Linked DNA regions of Homo sapiens: regions 1, 2, 3, 5 and 6 are each linked to region 4. Evidence: promoter capture Hi-C in 16 types of primary human blood cells and fetal thymus (Javierre and others, 2016). All regions are on one chromosome and are shown on one strand. The core of a region is centred on a gene start or on the middle of the fragment in contact, and the rest is flanking DNA. Distances in the headings are between cores, read along the strand shown.

What was found. The method cuts DNA at HindIII sites, captures the fragments that hold promoters and counts their contacts. A CHiCAGO score of 5 or more calls a contact.
Region 1: a contact is called between a fragment that was not itself captured here and the fragment with the promoter of USP6 in region 4, in 2 of 17 cell types (naive B cells and total B cells). The highest score is 6.4, in naive B cells.
Region 2: the fragment with the promoter of PSMB6 here is called in contact with the fragment with the promoter of USP6 in region 4 in 3 of 17 cell types (fetal thymus, erythroblasts and naive B cells); the score reaches 8.4 in fetal thymus.
Region 3: a contact is called between the fragment with the promoter of MED11 here and the fragment with the promoter of USP6 in region 4, in 1 of 17 cell types (fetal thymus). The highest score is 5.5, in fetal thymus.
Region 5: a contact is called between a fragment that was not itself captured here and the fragment with the promoter of USP6 in region 4, in 2 of 17 cell types (naive B cells and total B cells). The highest score is 7.3, in naive B cells.
Region 6: a contact is called between a fragment that was not itself captured here and the fragment with the promoter of USP6 in region 4, in 1 of 17 cell types (total B cells). The highest score is 5.2, in total B cells.

Annotation. Positions count from the first base shown.
Region 1 is chr17:5,455,495-5,459,164 of GRCh38, forward strand. DHX33 (DEAH-box helicase 33) reads right to left here. Exons shown (of 12, transcript NM_020162.4): 5 at 503-688. Among named protein-coding and RNA genes, the nearest start is that of DHX33, 12 kb to the right of the region's middle. The HindIII fragment of the contact is 1,608 bases long and covers 1,249-2,856 here.
Region 2 is chr17:4,793,794-4,797,486 of GRCh38, forward strand. PSMB6 (proteasome 20S subunit beta 6) reads left to right here and starts at 2,371. Exons shown (of 6, transcript NM_002798.3): 1 at 2,371-2,503; 2 at 2,935-3,002; 3 at 3,645-3,693. The coding sequence starts at 2,402. RefSeq lists enhancers at 2,130-2,728, 2,155-2,684. The HindIII fragment of the contact is 8,413 bases long and covers 1-3,693 here.
Region 3 is chr17:4,730,178-4,733,972 of GRCh38, forward strand. It overlaps MED11 (mediator complex subunit 11), which reads left to right and starts at 1,251. Exons shown (of 3, transcript NM_001001683.4): 1 at 1,251-1,397; 2 at 1,599-1,729; 3 at 2,873-3,430. The coding sequence starts at 1,313. The coding sequence ends at 3,010. CXCL16 (C-X-C motif chemokine ligand 16) reads right to left here. Exons shown (of 6, transcript NM_001386809.1): 6 at 3,356-3,795. RefSeq lists enhancers at 1,048-1,187, 1,087-1,906, 1,198-1,247. The HindIII fragment of the contact is 3,713 bases long and covers 700-3,795 here.
Region 4 is chr17:5,114,099-5,117,681 of GRCh38, forward strand. It overlaps USP6 (ubiquitin specific peptidase 6), which reads left to right and starts at 1,934. Exons shown (of 38, transcript NM_001304284.2): 1 at 1,934-2,642. It overlaps ZNF232-AS1 (ZNF232 antisense RNA 1), which reads left to right. Exons shown (of 3, transcript NR_135658.1): 3 at 60-284. It also overlaps a transcript of ZNF232 not described here. The HindIII fragment of the contact is 5,308 bases long and covers 1-3,583 here.
Region 5 is chr17:5,434,679-5,438,119 of GRCh38, forward strand. C1QBP (complement C1q binding protein) reads right to left here. Exons shown (of 6, transcript NM_001212.4): 3 at 195-288. Among named protein-coding and RNA genes, the nearest start is that of C1QBP, 2.8 kb to the right of the region's middle. The HindIII fragment of the contact is 4,188 bases long and covers 1-3,441 here.
Region 6 is chr17:5,405,816-5,409,316 of GRCh38, forward strand. NUP88 (nucleoporin 88) reads right to left here. Exons shown (of 17, transcript NM_002532.6): 5 at 2,918-3,094. Among named protein-coding and RNA genes, the nearest start is that of NUP88, 12 kb to the right of the region's middle. The HindIII fragment of the contact is 639 bases long and covers 1,444-2,082 here.

The DNA of each region.
Region 1 (3,670 bases), core at 803-3,302, 340 kb after region 4:
CAAGCACAGGAATCAGAAGCAAGTAGATGTGGGTTGGAATCGTGGCCCTGCCAGTGACTTACTATGCGCCCCCTTGAGCAATTGTTACTTCCCTTCTTGGGGCCTCAGGATCCCCATGGGATCATAACCTGCCTTGCCGGTTCCCACGAGGATGACAGACAGTGGATATAAATGCTAGCACAGTGCCTGGCACGGCAAAGGCACACAAGAAATGGCACTATGGACAAATGCAATTTATGCTGGTCCTTAGAAGTCACTCGTTTACCTTGCAGCTTTGGTTTATACTCTCCCTCATCCCAACAACTGTCTCCCTGCTCCTGTCACAGGAGCGCTGCGTGTGTCACCGCGCATTTTATTCCTGCACCTCCTCAGTGCGCTGATCTGGCACCTGGGTATCCCATCCCATACACCTTATCTGGAGCCTGGTAACAGGTACAGACCTCGCTGGTGGATCCGTCTGGGTGCCCAGAATAGGGCTGGACAGAAGAGGTGGTGCACTCACCTTTGGGGCCCCTTGGAAGACTCGGAGCTGCTGTGCATAGGGCAGGGAGGCGTACAGAGGAAGGACCAGCATCGCAGGGCAGCCGTCTGGGAGGTGCTTTGCAATGTCTCGGCACGTCTTGCTCATGGCTTCGATCTCCTCCTGCCCAGTGAGGAACACCAGGATGTCCTGTGAAGAAGGGGCTTCCTGTAAAAAAAGTAGAGTGGGTTTACTAGGCATTGATAGAATTGCAGCTTGCACAGAAAAAGACAATGGTGATTGATGATGTTTCCCAGAGTTATTTCTCTTAACTATAGAAATGTAAATGAGCCTAAAAGTTGATGTCTAGCTTGGAGAGAACCCTTACCAGCAGTGTGTAAATGGTAACAGGCTGGGTGTGATGGCTCACGCCTGTAAACCCAGCACTTTGGGAGGCTGAGGCGGGAGGATCGTTTGCAGCCAGGAGTTTGTGACCAGCCTGGGCAACGCAGCAAGATCCCATCTCTACAAAACACTTTTTTTTAAATTGGTCAGGGGTGGTGACACATGCCTATAGTTCCAGCTGCTTGCCACTCCACTCCAGCCTGGGCGACAGAACGAGAACCTGACTCAAAAACACAAAAAACAAAACTGTAATATATAGGAGTTAGCCAGCTATGTTTATAGGCCAAGTGATGAAATTTTGAAGGGAAATCATCAGATTGATTTTTCTAACAAGAACAATACCATGAAAAGCATAATCAGGCAAGCAAATAAAATCTGCATGAAGCTTCCTTTCTTTTATAAGCATCTTGAAAAATGAAGTTGACAAAACAGAAGGAAACTTGGGGAAATCCTAATCTATGGAAATGAACAGGCGCAGCCATGCTGGAGAAGGAGCCTTTAATGAATGACGCCGTCGAAAGCGCTTTCACACGCCCCAAAACACACACTATACTCGGACAACTGCTTGAGATACTGAGGTTAATGGGGTTCCTCACTTTCAAATGGAACAACACCCAAGTGTGAATGACATACCTAATGCCCTGATTTTTCTTTGATTTCTGATCAGATACATTAATTTGTTTGATGTAAAGTGCTTAACACTTTGGGAGGCCGAGGCGGCCAGATCACCTGAGGTCAGGAGTTCGAGACCAGCTTGACCAACATGGTGAAACCCTGTCTCTACTAAAAATACAAAAAATTAGCCAGGCGTGGTGGCGCACGCCTGTAATCCCAGCTACTCAGGAGGCTGAGGCAGGAGAATCACTTGAACATGGGAGGCGGAGGTTGCAGTGAGCCGAGATTGCATCACTGCACTCCAACCTGGGCGACAGAGCAAGACTCCATCTCAAAAAATAAATAAATAAAATGAAGTGCTTGATGGACTGGGCGCAGTGGCTCATGCCTGTAACCCCAGCACTTTGGGAGGCTGAGGCAGGCAAATGGGTTGAGGTCAGCAGTTTGAGACCAGCCTGTCCAACACAGTGAAATCCCATCTCTATTAAAAATACAAAAGTTAGCTAGGTGTGATCCCAGATACTCAGGAGGCTGAGGCACAAGAATCACTTGGACCTGGGAGGTAGAGGTTGCAGTGAGCCGAGCTCGTGTCACTGCACTCCAGCCTGGGCGACACAGTGAGACTCCATCTCAAAAAAAAAAAAAAAAAGTGCCTAATGGCAAAATAAATAGAAAAAAATTTTAATAATTATATGTATATTTATGTATATATGTAAAAATACGTATTTTTTAATATGTATTTTTTTTCAGCCCAGTATTAACAGAACAAATGTGCAGAGGGATACACAGACAGGATAAAATCTAAAACAGTCAAAACCTCATGAGTGGGAGAATTCATCAAAGCCAGTGGTAACCTAATGCACCAGCAGCCATCATTCATGAAAAATTCTCGTTTGCTTTCTGCAGCTGAACAAGGCAGACTTCTTCCCCAAACACTATGAAAACGACAGTAAAGGCCACTGTCTTAGAAAGAAAAGGCAATGAGAGATGAGGAGTCTCAACTCATTTTGGAAGAGAGGGGAAAGGGGCTGGATGACTTGGCTAGAGGGAGGAAACTACAAATTATGTTGTGGGAGAGTGAAAACTCAGGGATTGGTTCAAAGTCTGAGTATAGAGTAGTTAAAGCCTTCAGTTCCCTCTCCTACCCAGGACGGCCAGGAGACTGGGAAGCCATGGGTCTCACCACGGGAAAATGGTGACAAAGTGAAGAGTCAAGATGACAGCTGCACAAAGGCCCAGGAGAGCCACCTGCCCCAACTGGAACAGCAGCATAAAGGACTCTGAAAAGACAGACTGTGCTTGAACACAGAACTATACACGACTGGCATATGAGATGTTGGAATATTTGGGAGAAAATGAGCCAGAGCTACCCAGAAAGCTTGCACAACTGTGTTGTTCAAGAAACAAGGTACAGGGATGATGGTGTGCTACTAGCAATGTGTGGTCATAATATTCTTAGTATTGATACTGGACTCAGAAAACATCATAATAGGCCAGACACAGGTGTGCAAGCATGTAGTCCTAGCTACTCCCAATGCTGAGGTGGGAGGACTGATTGAGCCCGGGAGTTCACGACCAGCCTGGGCAACACAGCAAGATCCTGCCTCAAAAACAAAAACCTAAACAAAAACATGATAGAACTGTCAAGAGGTTGGAGATAAAGGGGGTTGGGGAGGGGCATTCTAAACTTTTGTCACCATGGTAAGAAATTAGCATATGATGCCTGATACCCATAACTCAAAAAATAGTGGTCAAAGCAAGGTAGTTTAGAAACATGAAAGCAATATGTAGAGATTGAAAGTAGGTGCCCTAAACAGCAGAAATCTGGGATGTTGAAGTAAAAACAACTGCTATTCTTTTATTATAAACCTTTTACTATAAACTACTTGACTTTTTAAAACTTTAAATCCCATATGCATCACTTATTTTAAAATAAAAATTGACTGGGCACGGTTTCTCACATCTGCAATCCCAGTGCTTTGGGAGGCTGAGTCGGGAAAATCACTTGAGGTCAGGAGTTTGAGACCAGTCCGGGCAACGTAGCAAGACCCTGTCTCTACAAAACATAAAAAAAAATTAGCCAGGTGTACTGGTGTGTGCCTGTAGTTCCAGCTACTCAGGAGGCAAAGGTAGGAGGACGGCTTGAGCCCAGGAGATCGAGGCTGTAGTAGCTGTGATTATGCCACTGCA
Region 2 (3,693 bases), core at 1,121-3,620, 320 kb before region 4:
TTTTTTTTTTTTTTTTTTTTGAGACGGAGTCTTGCTCTGTTGCCCAGGCTTGGGAGTGCAGCGGCCCGATCTCGGCTCACTGCAAGCTCCGCCTCCTGGTCTCAGACCATTCTCCTGCCTCAGCCTCCCGAGTAGCTGGGACTATAGGCGCCCACCACTACACCCGGCTAATTTTTTTTTTGTATTTTTAGTAGAGGGGTTTCACCGTGTTAGCCAGGATGGTCTCAGTCTCCTGACCTCGTGATCCGCCTGCCTCAGCCTCCCAAAGTGCTGGGATTACAGGCGTGAGCCACTGCACCCGGCAGGTCTTTTCAACAAATGGTGCTGGAACAACTAACTGACTATCCATATGCAAAAGCATGGATTTGGACTTCTACTTCACATCACATACAAAAATTAACTCAAAATGGACCACAGACCTAAAAATGTAAGAGCTGGCACTATAAACTTTCATGCTTCAAAGAACACCAATGAAGGACATGAAAAGACAATCCAATGGGAGAAAATATTTTCAAATCATGTATCTGATGTTTCTAGTACCTAGAATATTAAAAAGGACCCTTACAACTCAACAATAAAAAGACAAATAGAGCCAGGCACAGTGGCTCATGCCTGTAATCCTAGCACTTTCGGAGGCCGAGGCGGGAGGATCACCTGAGGTTAGGAGTTCGAGACCGGCCTGGCCAACATGGCGAAACCCCATCTCTTTAATAAAAATACAAAAATTAGCCGGGCATGGTGGCGCATGCCTGTAATCCCAGCTACTTGGGAGGCTGGGGCAAGAGAATTGCTGGAACCCGGGAGGCGGAAGCTGCAGTGAGCCGAGATCACACCAGTATAAAAAGACAAATAGAGGCCGGGCGCGGTGGCTCACGCCTGTAATCCCAGCACTTTGGGAGGCCGAGGCGGGTGGATCATGAGGTCAGGAGATCGAGACCATCCTGGCTAACAAGGTGAAACCCCGTCTCTACTAAAAATACAAAAAAAATTAGCCGGGCGCGGTGGCGGGCGCCTGTAGTCCCAGCTACTCGGGAGGCTGAGGCAGGAGAATGGCGTGAACCCGGGAAGCGGAGCTTGCAGTGAGCCGAGATTGCGCCACTGCAGTCCGCAGTCCCGCCTGGGCGACAGAGCGAGACTCCGTCTCAAAAAAAAAAAAAAAAAAAAAAAAAGACAAATAGAGCTGGGTTCAGTGGCACACACCTGTAGTCCCAGCTACTTGAGAAGCTGAGGCGGGAGGATCACTGGAGCCCAGGAGTTCGAGGCTGATATAGTGCACCATGATCCCATCTGCACTCCAGCCTGGGAAACACCGCAAGACAAACCCACCCCACACACACACCCCACCCTCGTCTCAAAAAAAAAAAATTAAACCCCAAAAATATATTAAACAAAAGACATATCCCAATTTTAGAATGTGCAAAGAACTTGAAAAAACATTGCATCAAAAAAGACATACAAATGGCCAATTATCTCATGGAAATATGCTCAGCATCACTAATCATTAGAAAAATACCAATGAAAACCACAGGGTACCACTTCACACCCACTGGAATGGCTATAACTAAAAAAATGCACAATAACAAGTGTTGGTGAGGATGTGGAGAAATTGGAACCCTCACACATGGCTTGTAGGGATGTAAAATGGTGCAGTTTCTGTGGAAAACAGTTTGTCGGTTGCTCAAAATGTTAAACATACAGTTATCATAGAACCCATAAATTCCTCTGCCAGCATATACTCCTAAGTATATAACTAAAAGAAATGAAAACATGGTGTGGTCACTTTAGCCCAAAGACTCTCAGGTTTATTTTGTGGGCCCTTTGGACTGTAACTCCATAAGATCGGTACGGCGCAAGCCACTAGGACTGTTTTTTGTTTTGTTTTGTTTTTGCTTTTGTTTTGAGACAGTCTTGCTCTGTCGCTCAGGCTGGAGTGCAGTGGCGTGATCTCGGCTCACTGTAACCTCCGCCTCCCAGGCTCAAGCGATTCTCCTGCCTCAGCCTCCCCAGTAGCCGGGATTACAGGCGCGCCCCACCACGCCCGGCTAATTTTTGTATTTTTTAGTAGAGAAGGAGTTTCACCATGTTGGCCAGGCTGGTCTTGAACTCCTAACCTCATGATCCGCCCGCCTCAGCCTCCCAAAGTGCCGAACGGTTTTTGGGTTTTTTTTGGTTTTTTGGGGGGGGGGTTTTGCTGACTTTCTTGTTTTGTTTGTTGCTTGCCACGCTGCCATCAAGTGCTCACTGTCGCAAAAGAACCGTCCCCATGCAGTACTGTACTTTTCTTTTCCCTTCTGCCGTCAACCTCGGAGTAGCTTCGCTCCCAGAAGGCCTCAAAGCGCGACCAAAGAGCGTGACAGAGCGCTTTACGACAGTTGCTTTGAGGCAGTACCGGAGGAGAAAGATGGCGGCTACCTTACTAGCTGCTCGGGGAGCCGGGCCAGCACCGGCTTGGGGGCCGGAGGCGTTCACTCCAGACTGGGAAAGCCGAGAAGTTTCCACTGGGGTGAGGAAGGAATCGGGGTTCATAGGACGTGCACAAGGCCTGACGCGATGGGAAGATAAAGCCTGAGTGGGGTTGAGAGATCTGGCAGGGGTGGAGAGGAGGTGGAATGTGTTGTGCTCCAGGAATGGGGAGAGGTACCCCGAAGATGGTGGAGTGGTGCGGTAGCTTCGTAGTGGGAGGTGGAGGGTGGGCTGAAGTTTGAAATTCTGAAATCCTGCGAGGCTAGTGAGGATCTTGGGCTTAAGTACGGGATGAGTCTTTTGAGATTTGAGGGTTGGCATTCTGGTATTCTGCGGGGTGCTGAGGCCCCTATAAGATTTGAAAATGGTTCAGCGACGGACAGATTTTGTATTTTTGGAACTAGGTAGAGAGATCATTGAGGTTTGTGTCTGCTGGAGAATGTAGACTTACTCCTTTTTCCCTTTTCCCAGACCACTATCATGGCCGTGCAGTTTGACGGGGGCGTGGTTCTGGGGGCGGACTCCAGAACAACCACTGGGTGAGCTCAGGACAGATTTGTGAAAGGTCTTCCCATCTTCCTTTTCCTTTCCTGCCTGCCAGCCCACCCTGCCTGCCTCCACAGACCACTGTGGGAAGAGAGGTTTCTTCTCTCTCTGGAGATAAAGATTTGTCCCAACTTTTGTTACTTTCAGTTCCCCTCACTCGTTAGTGGAATCCTTACAAAAGTCTGTTCTCCAGCCCGCTTCAGTTTGGATGAGAATAAGCAATACTGGAGGCCAGGCACGGTGGCTCACGCCTGTAATCCCAGTACTTTGGGAGGCCGAGGCGGGTGGATCACCTGAGGTCAGGAGTTCGAGACCAGCCTGGCCAACATGGCGAAACCCCGTCTCTACTAAAAAATACAAAAATTAGCCGTGCGTGGCGGTGCGTGCCTGCAGTCCCAGCTACTTGGGAGGCTAGGGCTAGAGAATCGCTTGGACCCAGGAGGTGGATGTTGCAGTGAGCAGAGATCGCGTCACTGTACTCCAGCCTGGGCAACAGAGCGAGACTCCATCTCAAAGAAAAAGGAAAAAAAGGCAATACTGGACATCCTATCCCTGAGCCCTAAGAGAGTGGGTAGTGATGGGATGGAGGTGGAAGACAGGTGGGCTCCTTTCCTCACTATTCTGCCATCCTGCAGGTCCTACATCGCCAATCGAGTGACTGACAAGCTGACACCTATTCACGAC
Region 3 (3,795 bases), core at 1-2,500, 380 kb before region 4:
TACAGGCATGCGCCACCATGCCCAGCTAATTCTGTATTTTTAGTAGAGACGGGGTTTCTCCATGTTGGTCAGGCTGGTCTCGAACTCCTGACCTCAGGTGATCCACCCGCCTCGGCCTCCCAAAGTGCTGGGATTACAGGTGTGAGCCACCAAACCCAGCCTTTATTTTTTAAATATAGGAGATGGGGTCTCACTATATTGCCCAGGCTGGTCTCGAAGTCCTTAGTTCAAGTGATCCTCCCACCTCAGCCTCCCAAAGAGCTGAAATTACAGGAGTGAGCCACCATGCCCAGCCCCCAAATTTTTTTATAAAGACAGTATCTCACTATGTTCCCCAGGCTAGACCATTCAGTTTAACTGAGTCTAACCTTCATGTGCTAACCTTGGGCAAACTAGTTTCATTCTTGATAATCTACTATAAACTGTTACAAACGATCTTTCCAAAAAAGGTAATTCTGGTCATAACACACTTCTTAAAAACCCTTTAAAGGCTCAAATGTCTTCAGACTCAAGTCCAAAGTACATAGCTTGCAAGCCTTTTCCTGATTCCGCTCCTCTCTCCAGCCTCACCATTGTCATACCTAACCCCCACCACGCTCCGTTCACTCCAGGCAGGCAGAATCCCTTGCTGGACTCCACATGCGCTGTTCCCGTCACAGCACCATGCTGTTGCCTATGCCGTCTCCCTTTTCCACTACAAGCTTTCATCCACGTAGTTCACCTTTAAGATTCAGCTCACGCCTGTAATCCCAGCACTTTGGGAGGCCGAAGAGGGTGGATCGCTTGAGGTCGAGTTCGAGACCAACCTGGCCAACATGGTGAAACCCCGTCTCTACTAAAAATACAAAAATCAGCCGGGCGTGGTGGCGGGCGCCTATAATCCCAGGCACCCGGGAAGCTGAAGCAGGAGAATCGCTTGAACCTGGGAGGTGGAGGTTGCAGGGAGGGAGATCTTGCGACTGCACTCCAACCTGGACGACAGAGTAAGACTGTCTCATAAATAAATAAACTTGTGTAGAATAAACTAGAGGCCACAGACAGTGTCAAGAAGATGGACAGGTCTGAATGGCCTCGGGCTAGGGGATATTCCACTGTCGCCTCTGACTACGGGTGGTCCTGTGGCTGAGGCGCAGCGGGCCCTGGGAGTTGTAGTTCATCAAGCGGACCGAGGAGGCGAGGCTGCGCTGAGCATCCTGGGAATCGTAGTGCTCGCTACACGGTGCCCTCTGCGCAGGCGCACACCGAGAGCCACTTCCGGAACAAGCGTCGCGTTTCTGAGGAGAAACTCTTGGTGAGAATTCCCAGAGTGATAATGGCTACCTACAGCCTGGCGAACGAGAGACTACGCGCTCTGGAAGACATTGAACGGGAAATCGGCGCCATCCTTCAGAATGCAGGTTCGGGATGCGACAACCTGGACAGCGGGGAGCGAAAGCGTGACCGGGCTGCACTGGCAGCCTGACCTGGGACTTGGAGCAGGGTTGGGGAGGGAATCCTACGTGCGTGCGCAGCGAAAGGGCGGGACTGAGAGGGGCTGGCCTAGGGAGAGGCTACACTGGCAGTCTCCGTGTGTCCCCGCCCTCTCTCCGCCCTGGCAGGTACTGTGATCCTAGAATTGTCCAAGGAAAAAACTAACGAGCGGCTCCTAGACCGGCAGGCGGCGGCCTTCACCGCTTCAGTGCAACACGTGGAGGCGGAGCTGTCAGCTCAGATCCGCTACCTCACCCAGGTCGGTGTGTCTGGGGGGTTCTGCGAGCGAACCCCAGCTCTGGGTCAAAGCCTCAGGCTTGGGTGATCCAGGGTGGAGCATTAACTGGGCAGGACCAGACCTCCCCAGCCGGCCATCCAGAGCGGGTTTCTTCCTCTAAAAGGAAAGAATGGGCCGGGCGCAGTGGCTTGACAGAGTTCGAGACCAGCCTGGCCAACACGGTGAAACCTCGTCTCTACTAAAAATATAAAAATTAGGCCAGGCTCGGTGGCTCACTCCTGTAATCCCAGCACTTTGGGAGGCTGAGGCGGGTGGATCATCTGAGGTCAGGAGTTCGAGACCAGCCTGGCCAACATGGTGAAACTCCGTCTCTACTAAAAATACAAAAATTAGCTGGGCTGGTAGCGGGCACCTGTAATCCCAGCTACTTGGAAGGGTGAGGCAGGAGAATCGCTTGAACCCAGGAGGTGGAGGTTGCAGTGAGCCAAGATTGCAGCACTGCACTCCAGCCTGGGTGACAAAGCAAGACTGTCTCAAAAAAAAAAAAAGCCGGGCTTGGTGGTGAGTACCGGTAACCCCAGCTACTTGGAAGGCTGAGGCAGGAGAATCGCTTGAACCCAGGAGGCGGAGGTTGTTGTACTTAGCCGAGATCATGCCATTGCACTCCAGCCTGGGTAACAGAGCAAAAACTCTGTCTCAAAAAATAATAAATAATAAAATGAAAGAATTAAAGGTGGCCCTGCATACCTCACTGGGTAACATCACATGTGCCTAGCAGAAGATGTGTAAATAATGCTAGAACTACAGAACTTTGTCACTGGAAACTTGGCCTGACCTCCAGGCCACGAGGTCCCAAATCCTTATATCCTGAGAAGAGGGACAGGATTGAGAAGGTTCTGAAATCGTCGCAGGGACCACTACCATTACTAATTTTTACGGTGTGCCAGATACTCTGCATTACTTTATCTAATCCTCAACAACTCTAGGAAGTAGTTATTGTCACCCCCATTTTACAGACAAGATTAACATAAGTTAAATGATTTATTTACCCAGCTACCAGATGGCCTAACAAATTCAAACTCAGGGAAGAAATGAGACGAGACCTGATGCCTGGTTGGAGTTAGGGTAAAGGAGATGGTGCTCCATTGATAGTCTGTCTTGTAGGTGGCCACAGGGCAGCCCCATGAGGGCTCCAGCTACTCTTCGAGGAAGGACTGTCAGATGGCTCTGAAGCGAGTGGACTATGCCCGCCTCAAGCTCAGTGATGTGGCTCGAACCTGTGAGCAGATGCTGGAGAACTAGGCCAGGGAGATGGACCCAGAGCTGAGAGGGAGACCATCACCTGTGCCATGGGACAGAACCTGGGAACATGTAGGGTGGGGAGTATGAGCACCAACATACCCTGCTGGTCAAAGTACCCTAGGACAAAGGGGCAAATGGTGGGCATGGAAAAACTGAAGCCCGAGCCTGCCCACAGCTATGCTTTGGCCTCTCCAGCAGGGTGCTCCTGCTCTGCACTCCAGAAACACCCTGACAGGCTCAGAGAGGAGATGGAAACTGACATACCCAACCCACTTCCTCAAACACTTCATGCTGCTGCCCCAGCCTTCCCGCAGACTTGGCCTAATGAAAATACATACTTCTTCATTCGGAGAGACAAAACAAGAACTAGAGTTTTAATGATAATAAAAGCAATAATAATAAAAGCAATAACAATAAAAACAAGATCAGACTCTCACTGGGGTAGGCAAGGGACTGAGGAGGTGAAACCAACCCGTATGGTGTCCCAGCACGGCACCTGCTAAGGAGGGAGGGTGGGAAAGCCCAGGCCTTCGCTGCGGGTACAGGAGGATGCAGGAGAGGGCTGAGGTGGGGGAGGAACAACTGGTGTACTGGGAGAGAGATTTGGGACGAGGGGGAACCATCAGCAAAAAATGAAGCCAGGAATCACAGTAAGGGCGCAAGGGCTGAGGCCAGTTGTTTCCATAAAGAAGACTCAATCATTACAAAAATAATTTTTAGTAGTTAAAAAACACACATAGGGCCAGGCATGGTGGCTCACACCTTTAATCCCAGCACTTTGGGAG
Region 4 (3,583 bases), core at 684-3,183:
CTCTCCTTCTCTCTTCCTATATGTACATACTGACATCTTTATCATTACTGTCTTCCTAGGGTTATGATTCTGTATGGTTTCTTTGGTGCTGCATTAGACCTGAGCTCTGATTGAAAATTCTTCCACGCTCGCTACATTCCAAAACTTTATCTCCAATATGAATTTCCAGATGCCTCACAAGGTCTGAGCTCCATCTGAAGGCTTTCCCATGCTTGTCACATTCATAGGGCTTTTCTCCACTATGAATTCTATGATGTCGAATAAAGTGTGAGCTCTGATTACAAGTCTTTGAACATTCATTGCATTCACAAAGTTTCTTTCCACTGTGAATTCTTTGATGCTGAATAAGTTGTGAGCTCCCCTTCAAATCTTTCCCACACCCAATGCATTTATAAGGCCTCTCTCTCACCTTGTATGGATTCTCTGATGTTCTGTAAGGACTGAGTTCTGGCCAGGCGCAGTGGCTCACGCCTGTAATCCCAGCACTTTGGGAAACCGAGGCGGGTGGATCAGCTGGGCTCAGGAGTTCGAGACCAGCCTGGCCAGCATGGTGAAAGCCCCTCTCTACTAAAAATACAAAAATTAGCCGGGTGTGGTGGTGGGTGCCTGTAATCCCAGCTAATTGGGAGGCTGGGGCTGGAGAATTACTTGAACCTGGGAGGTGGAGGTTGCAGTGAGCCGAGATCGGGCCACTGCACTCCAGCCTGGCAGCAGTGTGAGACTCCGTCCCAAAAAATAACAAACAAACAAAAAAGACACCAGAGGGCTTTGGGTCCCTCTCTCTCTGCCATGTGAGGACCCTGTGAGAAGGCAGCCAGGGAGCTCTCACCAGAACCTGACCATGTTGGGCCCTGGTCACAGCCTTGCAGCCTCCAAAACTGAGAAAATAAATTTCTGTTGTCTGGCATCCAGTCTATGGTATTTTGTTACGGCAGCCCGAGCTAAGACAGAGGAAAACTGGGGGCTGATGTGACGGCGGGGACTTTAGGTAGAAGGACCCCACGTCAAAAGTCAAAGCTAAAAATTCTGGAACGAGCCAGGAAGGCATCAGGACGTCTCATTTTATTTGCTAGAGGCATCTTTTGGGGGGTGGGGCGGTGGGTGGGTGGAAGGAGATGTGGCCAGTGAGCCTCTGACTTTTAATTGAGTTATTTCGAAACAAGGAACAGAGGGCCGGATGTGGTGGGTCGTGCCTGTAATTCCAGCACTTTGCGAGGCCGAGGCCAGTGGATCACCTGAGGTCAGGAGTTCAAGACCAGCCTGGCCAACATGGTGAAACCCTCTCTCTACTAAAAATACAAAATTAGCCTGGCGTGGTGGGGGGCGCCTGTAATCCCAGCTACTCGGGAGGCTGAGGCGGGACAACAGCTTTAACCCGGGAGGCGGAGGTTACAGTGAGCCGAGATGGCGCCACTGCACTCCGGCTTGGGCAACAGAGCAAGACTCCGTCTCCAAAAACACACACACACACACACACAAAACCCAAAACGGAACAGAGGCAGTTCTGTATTCCAGAGGGATTGATTTGTGATGCCTGCTCAAAACTCAAGAAGCCACCACCCTGATACTCATCAAACCCCGGAGAAATTTCGTTTTTAGAGTGTCAGAAGGCCCCATGAATAACCTTCCAGTCACTGAGGGAGGTCCCTACTCAGCACGCCCCGGTCTCCTTCACTCTCCTGCACTCGTGCCTCACAGATGGCCTCATGCGCGGACTGGCGGTCCAGCCTCCCGGGGACACAGCCCGGGCGCACCCCGCGCCGCCTTTGGCCACTGAGGCGGTCCTCGAGGCGCCGGGCTAGGGAAAGCCTCCCCGGCCGTCAAGGCTGGGATAGCGCCGGGGGATCGGGGCGGGGTGCGTGCGCCGAAAGGGCCTCAAAGCTGTAGGGCTGGACGGCACAAAGGGGCGCAAGGCACGGAGGCCAGGCAGAGGGGACAGCTAGCGGCGCGGCGGGACGGGCGGGCCCCGACGCCCAGCTCCAAATGCGTGGCCGCTGTGGGAGCTCGTCTCCAGGCGCCCATCAGTCTTCCCCTCACTCGACGCTACCTTGGCGGCCGCGCCCATGCTGTCCCCGCTCCAACTAGCAGTCAGGAGGGGCCGCGGGCAGCGCTCGAGACGCTCATTGAGAGGACTTCCCGCCTGCGGGCTCTCTGCTCGACGCCACTCCCGGCCCCGCTCCGGGCGGCCCCCCTCACCACTCCCGGCCCCGCTCCCGGCGGCCCGCCTCACCACTCCCGGCTTCCCGGGGCTTAGGCCCGCACCATCGAGTCGAACCGAGTCCTCATGTTTTCCTAGACAAGCCGCTGGGGGAGAGGGGAAACACTTCTGGCCCATGTGAGCCGCCGTCTCGTGTGGTGTCTGAGGGGCGTCTACCTGGAGTCACTGAGCCGACGAAAGGGAAAAGGCCAGTGCCTGTCCGGGAAGAGCTCAGCCTAGTGGGGCGGGCGACAAGTTACAGTTGCTGCCTTACGATGGCCGTGGCCCGTGGAGGCACTAGACCCTCACCAGGGGTCTGTCAGGAAAGGCGGGCAGATACGTGAGGCCTGAACAGGAAGGAACTGGGAGACCCAAGACTGTACCGCCAAGACCGCTTTCGAGTCGGGCCGACCGGAATTTGAATTCGTTTCTTCACTTACTAGTTGTGAGTCTTTGGGCAAATTTGCCTTTCTAGAGCGTAGTTTCTTATGTATAAAACAGGGTTAACAGTTGCACTCACTGAGGTAAATACAAGAGAAAATTGATGGTAAGTGCTTATCACGGTACCCAACACATAGCAAGTACTGAAAAGTGATGGAGCTAGGTACGGAGGGAGCAATCTTCACAGAGGGAACAGCTCGTGGAAAGGCCACAGGGCAAGAGGGCGGTGCCTACATTCTTGGGGAACTGCAGAGAGTTCATGGGTAAATAATAGGAAGGAAAGGTAAGTACTTTGCAGAAAGCCTTCCCCAGCTAGGTGAGACTCCCCACTGTAGTATCATATGCCTCTCCTTTTTGGCACTTATGGTTGCAACTTTATTAATGATTCTAATTAGTTTCTCTTCTACAATTATAAGTTCCATCAGGCCAGAGACTTGTCCATTTATGCTCACCCTGCTTTGTAGCACCCGCTGCTTAACACATATTAAAAGCTCGATAAGCCTGGGCGAGGGGGCTCAAGCCTCTAATCCCAGCACTTTGGGAGGCCGAGGCGGGTGGATCATGAGGTCAGGAGTTTGAGACCAGCCTGACCAACATGGTGAAACCCCCTCTCTACAAAAAATACAAAAATTAGCCGGGTGTGGAGGCACACACCTGTAATCCCAGCTACTCAGGAGGCTGAGGCAGGAGAATCACTTGAACCCGGGAGGCAAAGGTTGCAGTGAGCTGAGATTGCACCACTGCACTCCAGCCTGGGCGACAGAGCGAGACTCCGTCTCAAAAAAAAAAAAAAAAAGCTCAATAAATATTTACAGCACAAGTGAATAAATGGGGTCGCATCAGAATATATATGTCACAATAAGGACTTTGGACTTCAGGCTGAAGTTAGTGGGAAATCACTGTGGAAATTTAGAGAGGGGGATGGCACTATCAGATTTGTTCTGA
Region 5 (3,441 bases), core at 241-2,740, 320 kb after region 4:
GATGGTCTCGATCTCTTGACCTCGTGATCTGCCCGTCTCGGCCTCCCAAAGTGCTGGGATTATAGGCGTGAGCCATGCGACTGGACTTAGAGGAATTTTTTTTTTTTGAAAGACCAAAGAAAAACGCTCCTCCTCTAAGCCCCAGGCACAGCCTGTCAGAACTGAGGTAAAAGCTGATTATAGTATTAGCTTACCTCCTGTTCTTCAACCTTCTGCCCTTGCGAGGGTTCCTCCTCACCATCAAATGTTGGTGGGATGCTGTTGTTAATGTTGAAAGTGACCGTGATTCTAAAACGGCAAGGGAAAACAGACAAGGCAAAACAGACAAGGCATGGTTTTAACCGAGCAGGTTAACACATAAACATGGAAATCTGCTACAGTTAAAAAGGCGTATTGAAACAATGTCTCTGTCCTAGCTGGCTGAATTATATGCAGAACTTCAAACTAGGCTGGGTGCCTACATCCAATCCTGAGTGACTCAGCAGGTCTGAAGTGTGCCTACCATGTACCAGCTGCTGGAAGCCAAAGCTGGCCTCAGTTTATCTCAGCCAAACAAGTCATGCATGGGTTACTCCCAACAGGGCCAGTACCCCAGGGCTCACTGCCATGTGCTGACTGGGCATCTCATGGCCACAGCCAGCTGACACTGCCCACCCTGGTCTTTCCAGGGAACCCTTGGTCAAAGTAAGGACCTGAGAGGCTGGTGAGATGGAACAGAAGCCCCTTTAAGAGACTTTCCCCGTCAGAAAATTTGCCCTGCAAGGAAAGGAAGAAGCGATGGAGGGTGCCTCTGCTAAACACCGAGAGCAGCCCTGGAACGGGGAAGGGAATGCCTCACAAAGAACAAGGGCTGTAGTAGAGACTCATCCCTTAGAGTACTTGTGGGAAGTTTCATAATCACAAAGCAGGCCAGACACACCAACTAGTGACAATTTTAAGGTGCAAGAATCCACACCTGACAAATCATGTTCCAAAGTTTGAGTCAAAATTCTTGGGACATAAGGTTTAGAACCAAAACTGCTGGGCTATGCAACTCTGGCAGGCACCATTCCACACAAGAGTACATGAAGGCTGGGCGCAGTGGCTCACGCCTGTAATCCCAGCACTTTGGGAGGCCGAGGTGGGCAGATCACGAGGTCAAGAGATCGAGACCATCCTGGCCAACACGATGAAACTCCATCTCTACTAAAAAATACAAAAAAAAAAAAAAAAAAAAAATTAGCTGGGCGTGGTGGTACGCGCCTGTAATCCCAGCTACTCAGGAGGCTGAGGCAGGAGAATTGCTTGAACCTGGGAGGTGGAGGTTGCAGTGAGCCGAGATCACGCCACTGCTCTCCAGCCTGGAGACACAGCAAGACTCTGTCAGAAAAAAAAAAAAAAAAAAAAGAGTACATGAAGTGCCGCCCTCCACTTGTGCTAACTAGCTGCTCTGCCAGGAAGCCACCTTTCCATGGCAACAGAGGCAGTCTGAGGTTGACAAAATCTGTCTAATTCCAACTGTGCTGACTAAGCTGAGCTCCTGGGCACAGAAATTGAATGACGTTCATCAGAGCATTATTTTTAATGGCCCCCAAATAGCTATGAAAACCTTGCGCAAATGGTGTTTAGGTGAGATTACAGAAGACACAATTGACCTGTGTAGGGCAAAAACACACTATGCAACAGGCAAGAGAATCAGGACCCTACTTCACACCATATTCAAAATGAATCACAGACCTAAACTAAGAGCTAAAACTAGAAAACTTTGAAAAAATTAAGGCATACATCTTCACAACCTTGGGTTAGGCAGTGGTTTCTTAGACGTGACACTAAAAAAGCACAAGTTGCACTTGGTGAATTAGAAGCAAAGTAAAAAATAAATAAAAAAGCACAAGCGACCAAAAAAATAGGTAAACTGAACTTCCTCAAAATTAAAAACTTTTGTGTCAGAGGACATTACCAAGAAAGTGAAAAGGAAACCCACAAGATGGGAAACAGTACTTACAAATCATTAATTTGATAAGATAGTTGTACCCAGAAAAACTTAACTTTTACAACCCAACAATTAAAAAGGTAAATAGGGTGGGCAGGGTGGCTCACACCTGAAATCCCAGCACTTTGGGAGGCCAAGGCGGGCGGATCACGAGGTCAGGACTTTGAGACCAGCCTGGCCAACACGGTGAAACCCTGTCTCTACTAAAAATACAAAAATTAACCGGACGCACGCCTGTAATCCCAGCTAAGGAGGCTGAGGCAGGAGAATTGTCAGAACCTGGGAGGCAGAGGTTGCAGTGAGCCAAGATCGCACCACTGCACTCCATCCTGGGTGACAGAGCAAGACTCCGTGGGGTTGGGGGGGGAAGCTACAAATTGTATGACTCCATTTATATGAAATGTCCAAAAGAGGCAATCCCATAGAGAAAGTAGCTTAGTGATTACCTGGGGTGGCTACAGGGAGGAATAATGAGTGACTGCTAATAGGTATTGTTTGGGGATGACAACAGTGTTCTAGAATTAGGTAGTGATAACTGATGCATAATTCTGCGAGGACTAAGAACCACTTAATTTAATAAACTTCAATAAATGGGTAAATCGTATGCCATCTCAATTAAATCTCATAAAAGCTGTGATTTAAAAAAATTACATACACATCATAAGGTCAATTATGAAGGAAATTCAATTTATTTATTTATTATTGAGATGGCGTCTTGCTCTGTTGCCCAGGCTGGAGCGCGGTGGCGCGATCTCGACTCACTGCAACCTCCACCTCCCAGGTTCAAGCGATTCCCCTGCCTCAGCCTCCCGAGTAGCTGGGACTACAGGCACGTGCCACCATACCCGGTTAATTTTTACTAGAGCCAGGGTTTTAGTGTTAGCCAGGATTTTCTCCTGACCTCATGATCTGCCCGTCCCAAAGTGCTGGGATTATGGGTGTGAGCCACCGCGCCCAGGCTCAATTTAAAAACCTGGAAGATGCCAAATGTTTATCTGTGTAATGAGATTATGGATGACTATAATGCAGAAAAGTGTAAACACTTTAACAGTTTAGGAGATGATGGGGGAGCTGACTTAGGTCACAAACTCCCCACCTCTGATGGCAGCCCTTACTACAGTGTAACCCCATCCTGTTACATAGAAGTTACATATTTTTCATTTTCACCCATACTAAACATTAGAGAGCAGTGTCCTATTTTATCAGGGCTGTAAATCAGAGATCAAACTGATTCTGCCAGTACTTTTTTGCACTACATTTTTGTCTCCTTAGTAACCAGCCCACAGCAAATTTGTGTTCGGTGAATGGACTGCCTGGGGCTTACGAAGTTGTCCAAATGAATCCTTCACTCTCTTGAAACCCATTTATCAAAGTATCCACACCTGAACTCAAGGCTCTTCTGGGGATGACCCAGGATGGGTCCTGCAAGGTTAAGGGAGTTGCTGCCCTGGGATCCCCAGACCAGTACT
Region 6 (3,501 bases), core at 513-3,012, 290 kb after region 4:
AAACACAATTTTCTAACGTCCTTTTCTAATTTCTGTCTCTTAAATATTGGTGTTCTCCAGGATTCTGTTGTATGCTTTGACTTTTTTCAAAATACACACTTAAATGAGAGCCTGTTAAACTATGCCTCGTTTTAACTACCATCTATATTCAAAGACTACCAAATCCTTTCTTCTAAAATGTAGCTTCTCTTCAAGGCTTTGGATCCCCATATTAAATTTGATTTGACAAATACTTATTATTGAGTGCTAGATGATACTCCCAGTGAATGATGGTTTAGTTGATGAGGCAGACATTTAACCAGAATTACTATACCATGTGATAAGTGCAACAACAGAAGGATTTATGGTGTACAAAGGAATGACAAAAAGATACAAAGATAATGAAGAAAGCTATAAAAAATAAATGAGAAAAATGAGAAAGAATGATTTCTGGGAAGGGGATTGTTGAGCATTCCAAGCTAGAGATCAGTTTATGCAAAGTCCTGGAAACATGAAAGACAAAGAACTAAGAACAAGAAAACTTATTTAGTATGATGGGAGGCAAAGTACAAGGTGGAAGGCAACGGCAAAATAGCTAGACAGACATCCAGGACTGGCTTATGAAGTACACAGTCTTGTGTGCTATGTTAAACTATTTGAAATCTATCTGCCGGGTAACAGTATATCACTAGAGGTTTAAATCAAGCGATGGAGCCTCACTTTACAAATCAGTCTGGTATTAGGGAGGAAGACATGGAAGGGTCCAAAATGGGATTTGGGGAAACTATTTAAGAAAATAAGCCAGGCAGATGGTGAAGTAGGCAGATGATGCAGTTCTGAAGCAGGGACAGAGGAATGCAGAGAAGGGTGTATAATCAGGGGTGTCCAATCTTTTGGCTTCCCTGGGCCACACTGGAACAATTGTTTTGGGCCACACAGAAAATACACTAACAATACGTGATGAGCTTTAAAAAAAAAAGAAAAGAAAAGAAAATCGCAAACAAATATCATAATGTTCTAAGAAAGTTTACAAATTTGCGTTGGGCTGCATTCAAGGCTGTCCTGGGCTGCGCGCAGCCCGTGGGTTGGACAAGCTTGGTGTATACTTTCGAAAAATTTAAATCACAAAATCAATAGAAATTTGGGACTGATGAAATGTAAGGATGAAGAAAACTTTTGGGTTTTGGGCTAACGTTACTAGGCAGATCATGGTTTGGACAAATGAGGGCTCAGCAGCAAGAGGAGAAAGGGTAAGGGAAGGTACTAAAGTTACCACAAAATCCTCCTGAGATCATGTGTGAAAGGCAGAGAACATTTCTGCCAAGGAGAATGCACTCAACAGTGAATCCTCACCATTCTGTAACCTACCGAGCTCTTTCATCTTTCTAATCTTTATGGTTTTGCGTACTCTCTTCTCTCTCCTGTACCCACTTCTGATTCTGTCTAGTGAATCCTTCAAGTTCAAGCTTTTGTAATAGCATTTCCTTAAAGTCTTCCAAGATGAGCAGGCCTACTCATTTACTCCATCACACTCCTGAAGAACCCGGTGATGCCCTGAGCACATGACACTGTACTATAGTTACTGGTTTAGTTGTATGCCCTTCTGGTAGTTAAGGAACCACATGGCAGGAACCTTGCCTTCAATCTTGTATTTCCATCTTCTGCCAGAGTGGGTCCTGAATAAGTATCTGTTAAGTCGATTTACAAGCGAATAAACTCTAATGCTCAGCCCTTAGCCTTATGCCTCTGCAGTTTTCCCTCAAATTCTTATCCTGTATAGACTCTCTCACCATGAAAGATGATTCTCATACCTCTATTTTAATTCTTCTTGTCTGTCATCATCCTGTATTTCCAACTGTCCATGGAATATTTCCATTTTATTGGTCCAATACTATCTTACACTGATTTACTTAGAAATAAATCTTCTCCCCCAATTAGCAGCCTTTACTGACCTGTTTCTGTTCATGGCATACTCCCTTATCCAAACAGTAACTAAGTCTTATTTATCCTTCCTTTGTTGTTATCTACTGTGTTTCATTTTTCCCTCTGTTCTATTACCACCCAAGTTCAAACTCTCATAAATGACAAGCTCAATTTTGCAAAAGCTTCTTTAAAAGTCTCTGTCCCAGTCCCCTCCCTAACCAATTGTTTTGTCCTTCTGTTCAGAAACCATCACTGGCTTCCTACTACCCTATTCCTACAGAAAAAAAACCCACACTCACTCTTTTAACGAGGTATTTTTAATTCCAGCAAATTTTCTCGGGACAGATACTCCAGCTTTATCACTTAATGCTCCCTACATGAATCCTCAGCTCTAGCCCAGAATGTCTAATAAATTAAGCTTGAATGACACTTGCACTTGCTTATTTTCAGACGCTACTTTATGCTGCCCTTGACAGAAATGGTCTCACTCTTCCTTGATACTTCATTTAATCCTGAATGAGACCTTTAAGTCACACATGACACCACTCCTTCTCTACGAAAATTTCCTTAACCTCCCAGTCAGAATGATCTCTCCTTCCTCGGGGTTCTTACTGTCTGTGTACCAATACTGTGGTATGGATAGTATTTTTTCATGTGTATGTATCTTTCTCCCCACAACTGGGACATAAGATACCAGATTACCACGCCTACGTGGTGTCTTGTTCATATAAGATAAACAATAAGCACTTGTTCGGATAACTAGAATTTGTGAACACAAATCCAGGCCTATCATAAGTGATTATCCAAGAATTCTATAGAACTTACCCAAATAATATGAAGAAATGAAAGGCCAAATGACCTGTACTAACTCTTTCTCAAAAATATGCAAGCCAAGCATGTGAAGGCTGCAACATTTCCACAGACTCAAAAACATGGCTCCCAAGTCCAGCCTCAATGATATCTACTGGAGCCCAAACTGAGTTTTCATTTCAGGTGGGTGACCACCTCAACTTACCTGTGTAACAGACTGATGTATGTCAGGAAAGTCTCTCCATTTTCATATAAGATGTACAGTGGGTATGCCACTACTTCATCTTTGCCGTTTTGTCCAAATAGAGTCTTTGGGACTGCTGCCAATGGCCCAAAGTCAAATGCAACTGCTGTCTCTCCTAGAGATGCGGTATACGCCCTTCTGGAAAGAGATGTAAAAACCAACTTGTTAAAAACAAAAACAACAAAAAGTAAAAAGAAAAACAAAACAAAACAAAAACACAAAATGTCTAATAACAGGAGGTGGGTATGTATGGAATTTGTAGGCAATGGACTGAAAAGACAAAAAATGATTATGAAGAATGTTAACATTTAAAAATTCTCAGCTGGGTGCAGTGGCTCATGCCTGTAATCCCAGCAATTTGGGAGGCCGAGGTGGGTGGATCACCTGAGGTCAGGAGTTCGAGACCAGCCTGGCCAACATGGTGAAACCCCGTTTCTACTAAAAATACAAAAATTAGTTGGGCGTGGTGGCAGGTGCCTGTAGTCCCAGCTACTTGGGAGGCTAAGGCAGGAGAATTGCTTGAACCTGGGAGGCGGAGGTTGCAG